Regions from separate parts of the Homo sapiens genome. Here regions 1, 2 and 3 are each linked to region 4. The links are contacts of gene promoters, found by promoter capture Hi-C in human tissues and cell types (Jung and others, 2019). All regions are on one chromosome and are shown on one strand. The core of a region is centred on a gene start or on the middle of the fragment in contact, and the rest is flanking DNA. Distances in the headings are between cores, read along the strand shown. Region 1 overlaps GRK5 (G protein-coupled receptor kinase 5). Region 2 overlaps GRK5 (G protein-coupled receptor kinase 5). Region 3 overlaps GRK5 (G protein-coupled receptor kinase 5). Region 4 holds the start of PRDX3 (peroxiredoxin 3).

What was found. Contacts are between HindIII fragments. The study calls those that stand out against the background at their distance.
Region 1: a contact is called between a fragment that was not itself captured here and the fragment with the promoter of PRDX3 in region 4, in 2 of the 25 tissues and cell types used here (spleen and thymus).
Region 2: a fragment that was not itself captured here is called in contact with the fragment with the promoter of PRDX3 in region 4 in 3 of the 25 tissues and cell types used here (dorsolateral prefrontal cortex, liver and spleen).
Region 3: a contact is called between a fragment that was not itself captured here and the fragment with the promoter of PRDX3 in region 4, in 1 of the 25 tissues and cell types used here (mesendoderm cells).

Annotation. Positions count from the first base shown.
Region 1 is chr10:119,372,676-119,375,375 of GRCh38, reverse strand. All of the region lies in intron 2 of GRK5 (G protein-coupled receptor kinase 5), which reads right to left. Among named protein-coding and RNA genes, the nearest start is that of MIR4681, 3.9 kb to the left of the region's middle. The HindIII fragment of the contact is 8,040 bases long and covers 1-2,700 here.
Region 2 is chr10:119,326,560-119,329,429 of GRCh38, reverse strand. GRK5 (G protein-coupled receptor kinase 5) reads right to left here. Exons shown (of 16, transcript NM_005308.3): 2 at 2,819-2,870. Among named protein-coding and RNA genes, the nearest start is that of GRK5-AS1, 11 kb to the left of the region's middle. The HindIII fragment of the contact is 5,135 bases long and covers 1-2,870 here.
Region 3 is chr10:119,350,538-119,353,237 of GRCh38, reverse strand. The region is part of intron 2 of GRK5 (G protein-coupled receptor kinase 5); the gene reads right to left. Among named protein-coding and RNA genes, the nearest start is that of GRK5-AS1, 13 kb to the right of the region's middle. The HindIII fragment of the contact is 5,641 bases long and covers 1-2,700 here.
Region 4 is chr10:119,177,454-119,180,153 of GRCh38, reverse strand. It overlaps PRDX3 (peroxiredoxin 3), which reads left to right and starts at 1,342. Exons shown (of 7, transcript NM_006793.5): 1 at 1,342-1,399. The coding sequence starts at 1,364. RefSeq lists a silencer at 1,200-1,309 and enhancers at 1,340-1,819, 1,819-2,463. The HindIII fragment of the contact is 15,713 bases long and covers 1-2,700 here.

The sequences.
Region 1 (2,700 bases), core at 48-2,547, 200 kb before region 4:
GGCAGGGGGAGAAGCTGAGTCCAGGTGAAGAAGAGGGAAAAAGGTCAAAGCCAGAGAGAATGGGGCTTGAGGCTGGGAGGAGGGGCAAGGAGAAGCTACAGTGGGGAGGTGAAACCTCCAGGTGAGATGCCAGGAGGACCTGCAGGGTGTGCTGAAGTGTGGGAGAAGGTGAATTAGGACAAGAATTCTGGGCTAGGTCTGAGACCACCATAGGATGTCACTGAGTGGATCTTCAAGACTGTCCTAAAGAAAACAGACAGAAAGTGGTAGGTCACTCAGGGATGGGAGGTGAGGCGTGAAGGGGCGAGAACCAGCAAGTAGTGTTAAGTGAGTGGCCAGCAAGTGTATTAGGCCATTCTTGCATTGCTATAAATACCTGAGCCTGGTTAATTTATTAGAAAACACGTTTAATTGGCTCATGGTTCTACAGGCTGTACAGGAAGCATAGCACTGGCATCTGCTTCAGGGGAGGCCTCAGGAAGCTTACAATCGTGGTAGAAGGTGAAGCAGGAGCAGGCATGTCACATGGCCAGAGGAGAGTTGAAGGGGAGGTGCCACACTGCAACAACCAGATCTCACAAGAACTCACTATCACCAACAATGCCCTCATGACCCAAACACCTCCCACCAGGCTCCACCTCAACATTAGGGATTACATCTCAACATGAGACTTAGGCAGGGACAAATATCCAAACTGTACCAGCAAGTACACTTCCTTGGTAATGAATGTAACTGGCTGAAAATCCACATGCTAAGACACATGCACATACAATAAGCAACACACGTCTTGGGGGCCTGGGCACAGCCAACTCACTTCCAACTCTGCCCTTCCCAGGACAGGGCTCACACTTGCCAAGTTGTCAGCCAACAGAGGGTACGTCAACCAACAGAGGGCACAGCAAGCCAAGGGGCCCCTGTCCTCACCACCTTCACCTGGTGAGGTTTGGGTGCTTGGGAGAGACCTCGCTTGCCTCTTAGCCTATTCTCATTGTAAGCCACTAAAGATACCACACCCCAGGCCTGTTGCCAAGGACACCACAGTGGATGAGCACTGGGCAGGGGTCGGTCTCAGCTCTGCCATCAATTCTCTGTGTAACCTTGGACAAGTCACTTCCCCTTTCTTGGTCTCAGTTTCCTCATCCATAAAATAAGGGGGTTCGAATAATAACCTCTAAGCCCCTTCTCAACCTGCAAACCTTCTTGGCATGCCAGCTTCACAAATGCAGATGATTACAGGGACTTAGACCAGATTCCAAGATCAACCTTGGAGGTCAGTTTCAACCAGGATTCCAAAAACTGTTTCCATCCAACCTCAATAGGGATTCCTGATCTCGCATCTCACCCCCTGGTTCTAAGGCAAGGGTAGGCAAACTTTTCTGTAAAGGGCTAGTGGGAGATATTTACTACTAGCCATATGGTAGTAGTTTGAGGGCCATATGGTCTCTTTCACAACGATTCAGCTCGCTGTTGTAGTGAAAGCCTCCGCAGACTACGCAGGCACACTCGTATTATTGCACTTCACTTTATTGTCTTTTGCAGATATTGCATTTTTTATATGAATTGAAGGTTTGTGGCAACCCCGTGTCGAGCAAGTCTATCCGCACCATTTTCATTTCCCCAACAGCATGTGCGAACTTCCTGTCTGTGTCACATTTCAGTAACTCTCAAAATATTCCACCTGGGAGCCTACTGAAAATGCAGATTCTCATTCCCCCCACCCCACTTCAGACCTACTATATTAGTCTGTTCTCATGCTGCTAATAAAGACATACCTGACTGGGTAATTTATAAAGGAAAGAGGTTCACTTGACTCACAGTTCCACGTGACTGGGGAGGCCTCACAATCATGACAGAAGAGCAAGGGACGTCTTACATGGTGGCAGGCAAGACAGAGCGTTTGCAAGGGAACTCCCCTTTATAAAACCATTAGATCTTGTGAGACTTATTCACTATCATGAGAACAGCATGGGAAAGACCCATCCCCATGATTCAATTACCTCCCAACAGGTCCCTCCCACACATGTGGGAATTATGGGAGCTACAATTCAACATGAGATTTAGGTGGGGACATAGCCAAACCATATCACCTACTGACTGAATCAGAATTCCACTGGTAGGGCCCAGAAATCTGTGTTTTAACATACTCTCCAGTTTAAAGCAGTGCTTTTCCAGCTATCTATGGAAAAGAACCAGTTTTTTAAATTTCCAATCCATCACGGACTGATACTTTTGTAAATCTCCATTGTTCCCAACTTTCCACGTGAGTCTGACAACAGCCAACTGCTTTATCACCTGTTCCACAAGATGAGTCCACTGATCACACACCTGGATGCTACAGCCACAACGAATTGCTATGAGTGTTTCTAAGCATCTCTGTACTTATCACAGACCAGTAAAATCAGTCCACGAACCACACTTTGAACTGCTCTAGAAACACAAGGTCTTGTATTCCTTTCTTTGGAGAGTCATCCCTTCCCCTATAATAATTCTTTGGGTGAGGCCAACACCAAGCTCGGAGATGAGCACAGGGCCCAGGCCTTACCAATCTGAGTCTTTACTTGAACATTTTTTGGCACTCTAAGGAAAGTTACTTTTTCTTTATTTGAAGCCTTTAACTCTTAGGACCATGTAAGCCTGGAGTTGCTGGTGGCTATCTTGTGGCCATATAGAAAGAACCTGTCAGAGAATGAAATCAAAACT
Region 2 (2,870 bases), core at 363-2,862, 150 kb before region 4:
TGCTGTGTCGTCCCTCATGGCTCGAGGTCCCCAGCCAGTCTGCCTTCTTCTCTCCCGGCTTTCAAAATCTTATGTTTGTTTTATACATAATGTCCAGGGTTTTTGACTGTCCTTAGCGGGAAGGACAGGAAACACCGCATCTACTCCCTCTTGTCTGGAACCATAAATCCTATATTTCATATTTTCATCTTTTATATTTTTGAGAAACACATGAATAAAATATAGCAAAATGTTAAGATTTCTCTCATCTGGATGGCAGATACATGAATGCTCAGTATCTGGCTCTCAATGCTCTTCTTCTATTTATTAGAAACACTTCATAAGTTGAGTGGTCACTTACACCTCATTTATTCTTTCCTTCCCTCGTTCATCCAACTAACATCTATTGTGCCCCTCCTGTGAGGCAGGCACCAACTACGCAGTGGTGAATTTTAACAATCCAGTTCCTCCCCAAAGAGCCCTGAGGAAGGGTGCTCTGGCAGAAGAGGACAGGTGCTCTGAGAGACTCTGGTCTGGAGCTCATTTAAATTCAGGAGTCAAAAGAGGCTTCTCTGAGGAAGTGGCCTTCACATCTGGCTGTGCCCCATAGCACTCCTGGCATCACCACCTGCAGACAGTTTAGCCAGGGCCGGGAAGCACCGCCCTGCCAGGTGAGCGTGGCTGTGCGCAGGTGCCCGCTTCTCACATTGCTCCCCTTGGAGATGCTTTCCTCCTGTTGTAAGCTCTCACCTCCAACTCAACACCCCAGAAAGGTCTCTCCGAGCAGCCCTGTGGCCCTGTGGATGAGTGCAAGACGTTCCCTGGGGCCACAGTGAATGGGTTGTGAGGTAACATCCCTCTTTTGGGAGAAGCTGGGCTCAGCATCCAGGAATGGCTTTCTGGCAGCCAGCAGACCCAGGATGAAAATGACAGAGAAGGCTTGGCTCACCAGAAAGGGGGTACTTGCTGGGCACACATGGGTGAGTTGCAACCATGGCAACTAAGGTCTCCTCCCCAGTCCCACAACAGGCCCTATTCTCTCTGAGCCAAAATTAGCATGAAGAACAAAATGGTCCCCCATGAGGAAATGGCTAGTCACCAGAGGGGTTCTCCCTGGCTCCCCTCTCTGAAGGCCCCCTGCAAAGTCTCAGTGGTCAAATCCTCCCCAGTAAGCTACAGCCCCAGGAACACAGCCCCTCTTCTCTTCCACCCGACCTCGACTGCCTCCAGCAGAAAAGCTGATCATCAAGGGTGCACACGGCATCCACGGCACCGTGGTGTCTGTGGGAACTCCGGAAAGCACGCCAGTGTGCAGAGGGGCATGGGCCCCTGGTCTCCCGACGAGGGCACCAGCTAAGCCCTTTACACACATGGTCTCATCTCACCCACTCCACCACCCTATGACTGGGTTCACAGACAGTGTTACAGCTGGGGAAACAGGCTCAGCAGGATAAAGTAACTTGTCATGTGGCCAGCAGAGAGGGCAGGATCTGAACCCATGTCTGCCTGGACCCAGAGCCCCCAATCCCTCAGGCCAGCAGCATTCTCGGCCCGAGAACACCATGGGGATTCTGATGTGCCTGGGATTTTAGGGATGGAAGGTGGGTCTTAAGGACGTTTCCTGACCCTTCAGGATCCCACCTTGCTTCACCTGCTCATGTCTGCCGTCGTGGGGCGGGGCACAGATGGCCTCCTATCACCTATAAACATGGAGTGTGGACTGAGTGGCCCAGGGCCAGGACGGAGCAAGCCTGGGGGTGGCAGGTAAGTCCCCCCGGCCCTGGAAACTGGTGGGGACAGACCGTGAAGAGGCCATTTAGAAAAGCTGAATAAATGGCTACATGTGGCCTTGAATTCCAGGGCAGGCACGGGGCAGCTCACCCGAGGCCCTGGGCAGAAGTCCCCAGAAAAGCTGGGCCTATGGAGTTCTGGGCAGCACCACCCCGTGCCCAGCCTTCAGTGGACTTGAGTCTTCTTAAACGTGTTCAGCACGTCCATGACCTCTGACAATAATAAGCGGATGGGGAGCCCTCAGGCAGTGATGGGGAAGGACCCACCCCAGGGCACAGAGGGGAGAAGGGCCGGGACCCCAAACACTCTGGAGTGGGGCCTCACATCATGCCTGTCCCCTGGGCGCTCTCGCCCAGGCACCCAGGCCTCCTCACCACAGCCGTGTCCTGCGTGGGACCAGGCACAGACCCACTTGGTTGGCTGCTCTTGGAGGTGCCTGGTGTGTGTGTGCTGGATACAGGGGGCTAAGCTGTGCCACTGAGCCCAGTGGCTCCTCAGGAGCACTGACATCCCCAGCAAGTGGAAAGGGGAGCCCTACCTCCCCCACCTCACCCCACATCCCCCACCCCACCTGACTCTCAGCTCCCAAAGCCTGGGCTGCCCCCTGAGGGCAGGACCCACAGGCTCCAGGAAGAAAGGGGAGAAGTTATGAGCGGTGGCTCTGTGTTGGGCCTGGCCCACCTCCACCACCCTCCCATCAGCTGTGTGACTTTGGGCCGTTACAGAACCACTCTGTGCCTCAGTTTCCCCATCTGAAAGGTGAAGTGAAATATTAAATAATAGCACCTGCCTCAAAGGATAACTGGGAGGAGGTCACTCTGCCCGGCACATGCCATATATTCAATGAATACTGGTTGCCTGTTTATGTTGATTAGCAAAAAGGTCAGCCTGGAGCCCCTACCTGGAAGCACAATACTGTGTCCACTGATTGGCATTTGCCTCACTGCACAGACAGCTTGGCGGCTCACCCATTTGCCTTAATGCACAAACGGCTTGGCGGATCACCTGCTACTCACTCCCCGCACAGCCCCCAGGCAGGACAGCTTACCTATGGTCCTTCGGAGGTCTTCACACTGGCTAATGTGAGGGAACTTCAGGAT
Region 3 (2,700 bases), core at 189-2,688, 170 kb before region 4:
CCCACCCCTGGCTCCCATTTCAGCCCGAACATTCTTTCCATGGTCTAGCATCCCAATTCCCAAAAAGTGAAAAGGGCATTTCATACCCACATGAACCCAAATCCCAGCAGAGAGGGCTTCTTCACATGAACAAGATTTGATCTCTGAACCAGTCCCCGGAACAACATTGGCAACCCAGAAGGCTCCACTGATTTTAAAGAACTCTCCAAACTTTTGATATTTCTGGCAACTGGCCAGCATACCCTCCTGAGATAAGAAGTGAAAAGCAAACCCAGGTCCTCAGGGGAGAGAGAGGGAGGACGGAGCCCGGGTGGCCCACAGTGCCCAGGTCCTACTCTTGCCCGTAAGCTGCACAGAACTTGGGCCTGGTCACCACCATACGGGGCTCTGCTGAGCTTAAATGACACCAATCCAGGATTCGGGTGGAAAGTGGGCTCTTGCTCTAATTGCACCAGAGGATGGCAGGTGGTGGAATGAGACTGGTTTGTACCAAGAGTGACTCTTGTCTTTTCAGAAGGGTTGATGAGATGGTGGGCAGGGGCTGCCTTGGGCAGGTGACATAATCGCTGCAACTTTCCCCTCCAATTAAACACCAAATAAATGTGTTGAAGAAACCAAAACAGACCCAGGAGCTTATTGGGGCCACTCCAGAGGCAAGTCTGGTTAGAGGAGGCTTTTTCTTACCCACTCAACTGCAGTCTCCTTTACAGCTTCAACGAGAAGCAGTTCGATCTGCTGTAAGCACCTTGAGGGCAGGATGTTTGTCCTCCATTCACATATGCTGAGCACACAGTGGGCAGCCTCCCTAATAACCAGGGCCAGCCAATGAGATGCAAGAATAACTTGTTAGCTTTCCCTTCCAGAAAAGCTCCTTCAAGGGGCTCACACATTGGGAGATATGTACTTTTACCCTTTCCCTCTTATCTTTTTCTACTTCTTTGGAACAAGAATATTGTGGCTGGAGCTCTATCTGCCATCTTGGATCATGAGACACCTAGTGGAATCGAGAGATAAAAGCAGCCTAGGACCCTGATGACACAGAAGAGCCAACGCATGGCCTAACTCAAGATTTTATTTATATGAGGAAAAAGTGTTTAAGTCACTATAATTCAAACCATCCAGCCAATAATTATGGGTATCTGACCCATGGGACATTCTACCTTACCACCCAAACTTCCCTTGCTAAAGCCTACCACTCAGTTGAGGCCACCTCCCCTAGGAAGCTTTCCTGGATTACACTCTGCAGAGGGAAGGATCACTTTTTAATTTGATCAATTGCCATATAGCATAGTGGCTAAGAGTTCAGGATCAGGAGTTGACAGACCTGGATCCAAATTCAAGTTCCCTCACTTACTAGTCATGTGACCTTGGATGAATCATTTCACTTCTTTGAACTTTATGAGCTTTTATCAGCTGTCAGTTGGGACTACCATCTGACACTACCATTATCCAGGGTTCCCAAGGACTGGATGAGAACAGAGGTAAAGCCCCTGGCAACCAATCAACACAAAATACACCTGAACTTATTTTTTCCAGATACCAGTCATTCATGAGCTGCTGTCATGGTTTTTACCTACCACCTATAATAGTGTCTTAGTCCATCCTCACTCTGCTTGATAAAGACATACCCGAGACTGGGTAATTTATAAGGAAAAAGAGGTTTAATGGACTCACAGTTCCACATGGCCAGGGAAGCCTCACAATCATGGCAGAAGAGGAAAGGCACATCTTACATGGCGGCCGGCAAGAGAGAATGAGAGCCAAGTGAAAGGGGTTTTCCCTTATAAAACCATCAGATCTGGTGAGGCTTATTCACTACCACAAGAACAGTAATGGAGAAACCACCCCCATGATTCAACTATCTCCCATCAGGTCCCTCCCACAACATGTGGGAATTATGGGAGCTACGATTCAAGACGAGACTTGGGTGGGGACACAGAGCCAAACCATATCAAAGAGTTACCACCATTACAGTATTTACTCAATATCTTTCTTTAACTTAGGTTGTAATTAACTGCCCCTCCTGTCTTTTTCCAACTTAGTCTTTCTAAGTAATAACATAGTGGAATTACTGTTGCAGTGGCTGGATTTTTTTAATGACATACATTAAAATAAATGCATAACACATTCCATCCACTTCCTAACATGATTCTGACATATTTAGGAACAAAATGCAGATGTCTCTTCCATTCCCTACTGACTAGGCTCCCTGAGGGTGGGGCCTGGGTTGCACTTATCTCTGTGATTAGCCCAGTATCTGCAACACAGACGGAGCCCATTGAATATCTGCCTAATGGGTGGGCAAACATTCTCCCACAGCCCCATCAGAGACCTGGACAGCAGGCCCAGCCAAATTCCATTCCAGCACATTCTGAGGGCTGTCCAAATTCTTCTGCTGTGCTGCGTGCATGTTCTATCAAACATTACACACTGGAAGTAGACTGTCAACAGAGGAGTCTGCAATTGTTTCCACAAACGTGTCCATGAAACTCAAACAGCTTTTGCTGTAATGGGATTTGATCCACTCCATGGCAGCCTGGCAAGATCTGAACTGACCAGTGAAACGTGGCAGGGACTTCACAAAAAAGGGGTTCTTCTCTGCGCTGGACAAATAAAACCTTCTGAAAGAGGGTTGCACCACTTCGACAGCTGAAAAGATTCTTGTGAAATGTTTCCATCGGGAAACGCAAAGCAAGAGGT
Region 4 (2,700 bases), core at 93-2,592:
GCACTTTGGGAGGCCAAGGTGGGAGGATCACCTGATGTCAGGAGTTCAAGACCAGCCTAGCCAATATGGTGAAACCCCATCTCTACTAAAAATACTAAAAAAATTAGCCGGGTTTAGTGGTGCACGCCTGTAATCCCAGCTACTCGAGAGGCTGAGCCAGAAGAATCGCTCGAACCAAGGAGGTAGAGGTTGCAGTGAGCCGAGATTGTGCCACTGCACTCTAGCCTGGACGACAGAGTGAGACTCTGTCTCAAAAAAGAAAAGGAAAAAAAAAAAAGAAAGCCAATTTAAAGAAAATAGTAAGTGATATTTGGTGATAAGAAGACTTGAGAAACGAAGTTGCTAATTGAATGACTAGTGATTGGAAAATACCAACTCAGACCGGGTGCAGTGGCTCATGCCTATCATCCCAGCACTTTGGGAGGCCGAGGTGGGCGGATCACTTGAGGTCAGGAGTTTGAGACCAGCCTGGCCAACATGGTGAAACCCCATCTCTACTTAAAATACAAAAACTTAACTGGGCATGGTGGCAGGCGGCTGTAATCCCAGCTGCTCAGGAATCCCAATTACTCATGAAGCTCAGGCAGGAGAATCGCTTGAACCCGGGAGGCAGAGGTTGCAGTGAGCCAAGATCATGCCACTGCACTCCAGCCTGGGCGACAGAGCAAGACCCAGTCTCAAAAAAAAAAAAAAAGAAAAGAAAAGAAAAGAGAAAAGAAAATACCAGCTCCAAGACTGCAATTTGTCACACTTACTGTAAGGCCACGGTGTGATTTTTATCTATGTTTGATGTGGTTGCTTCAAGTACTATGCTCACCACTGAACACTTGGCTTCATTAATAGACAAAAACCAAATTTTAAATTTGTCCCAGTTTTCCCAATTTTGGGAAGAGAGGCCAAATGTTAGACCACACACAATTCCAGCGGATTTCAGGCCAACAAAGCCTTGATGTGTCTAGCCCACTTAGCTTATTAACGGACTAAAACTGCATTTGTAATTAATTCCATTTCATACAGAAGCCGGAAGTCTCTACCTGAGGCTGAAATAAGAAAGGGATCCTGTCACAGAAATACTAGACACAGTAATCCACACAAGGTTAACAAAACAGTGGGAAATATGGAAACAAATACCTAATGCCCCGCCTGGATTCGTTCTTTTAAGGTTGGGGCGACAGTAGGAAAACCACGTGTCACTTGCCCAAGCATTCAGCCTTAAAGGGAATTTCTCCCTCAGGGTCTCCAGGAGGCGGGGAGGCGGTGGCTCCTCCGGCCCCGCCCCCCCACCAGCAGAGGGCCCGCTCACCACCCCGTAGGCCCCGCCCCTGCGTCTCTGCCCGCCCCGTGGCGCCCGAGTGCACTGAAGATGGCGGCTGCTGTAGGACGGTTGCTCCGAGCGTCGGTGAGTGGCTGTCGGCTGGGGACAGGCGTGGAGACACTGGTGGCTCCGGGAACGTGCTTCTCAGACAGGACCCCGCGCTTCTGGGCATGAGGGCCATTCGCCCTTCTTGGAGGGTTTCCGCGGGTAACGGACCCAGAGGCCTCCCTCCGGGAAGGTTCCATGCGCCTGCGCAGAACCGCCCTTCCCCACTCCATCCTCGCGGTCTCTTCCCCGAGTCCCTCCTCTTTCGGCGTCCCCGGTCCCCAGGCCCATCTCCACTTAAGGTCCTGGCCCTGATTCTGCCACCGACCCTGTGATCTTGGGCAAGCGCCTTCGCCTTTCTCAGACTGTGTACTTAAGATGGAAAGAATGATGCCTACATCAAGGCGTTGCTGTGAACAGCCCCTTAAATACTGGATAAAAACGCGCAAAGTGCTAAAAAACTCACAAAGGCTTTCCCTCCCAATCCCACTCCCGCGTGTTTCTGCTGCTGTTTCCTGCTTAACTGTGGGCAATGCGTCGTGCTCTTTTGGTACACGGCTTTCTCTGGTGGGGTTCAACACAGCCCCTTTCGTTCTCCTGAGTCATTTTGAACATTAAAGTTGAGCAAACCGGCAGAGTGCGGTGGCTCACGCCTGTAATCCTAGCACTTTGGGAGGCCGAGGCGGGCAGATCACTTGAGCCCAGGAGTTTGAGACCAGCCTGGACAATAATAGTGAGACCTTGTCTCTAAAAAAAAAAATAGCCGGGCATGGTGGTCAGTGCTCCTGGGGAGGCTAAGGTGGGAGGATCACTTGAGCCCAGGAGGTCGAGACTGCAGCGAGCCGAGATCGCGCCACTGCACTCTAGCCTGGGTAAAAGAGCGAGACTCTGTTTCAAAAAAAAAAAAAAAAAGTTGAGTAAACATGTCCCTTGAGCCTTTAACAGACTCCCAGAGGCTGAATTTGGCTCTTCTTGTTTACTTGTCGCTGGTGCTGGAGGGGCCTTGTTTTTCTAAGGAAAACCTTGAAATGGTAGAACATACTCAGCAGATAGTGCTGGGAAAAGCCTGCACAAGTCCCCTGGCTTCTGAACCCTGTGTTGCTTTAAGCGCATGGAGTTTCTGATTTTTTTTTTTTTTTTTTTTGAGACGGAGTTGTCGCCCAGGTTAGAGTGCAATGGCGCGATCTCGGCTCTGCAACCTCTGCCTCCCGGGTTCAAGCAATTCTCCTGCCTCAGCCTCCCAAGCAGCTGGAATTACAGGTGCCCGCCACCGCCGCCTGGCTAAGTTTTGTGTTTTTAGTAGAGATGGAGTTTCACCATCTTGGCCAGGCTGGTCTCGA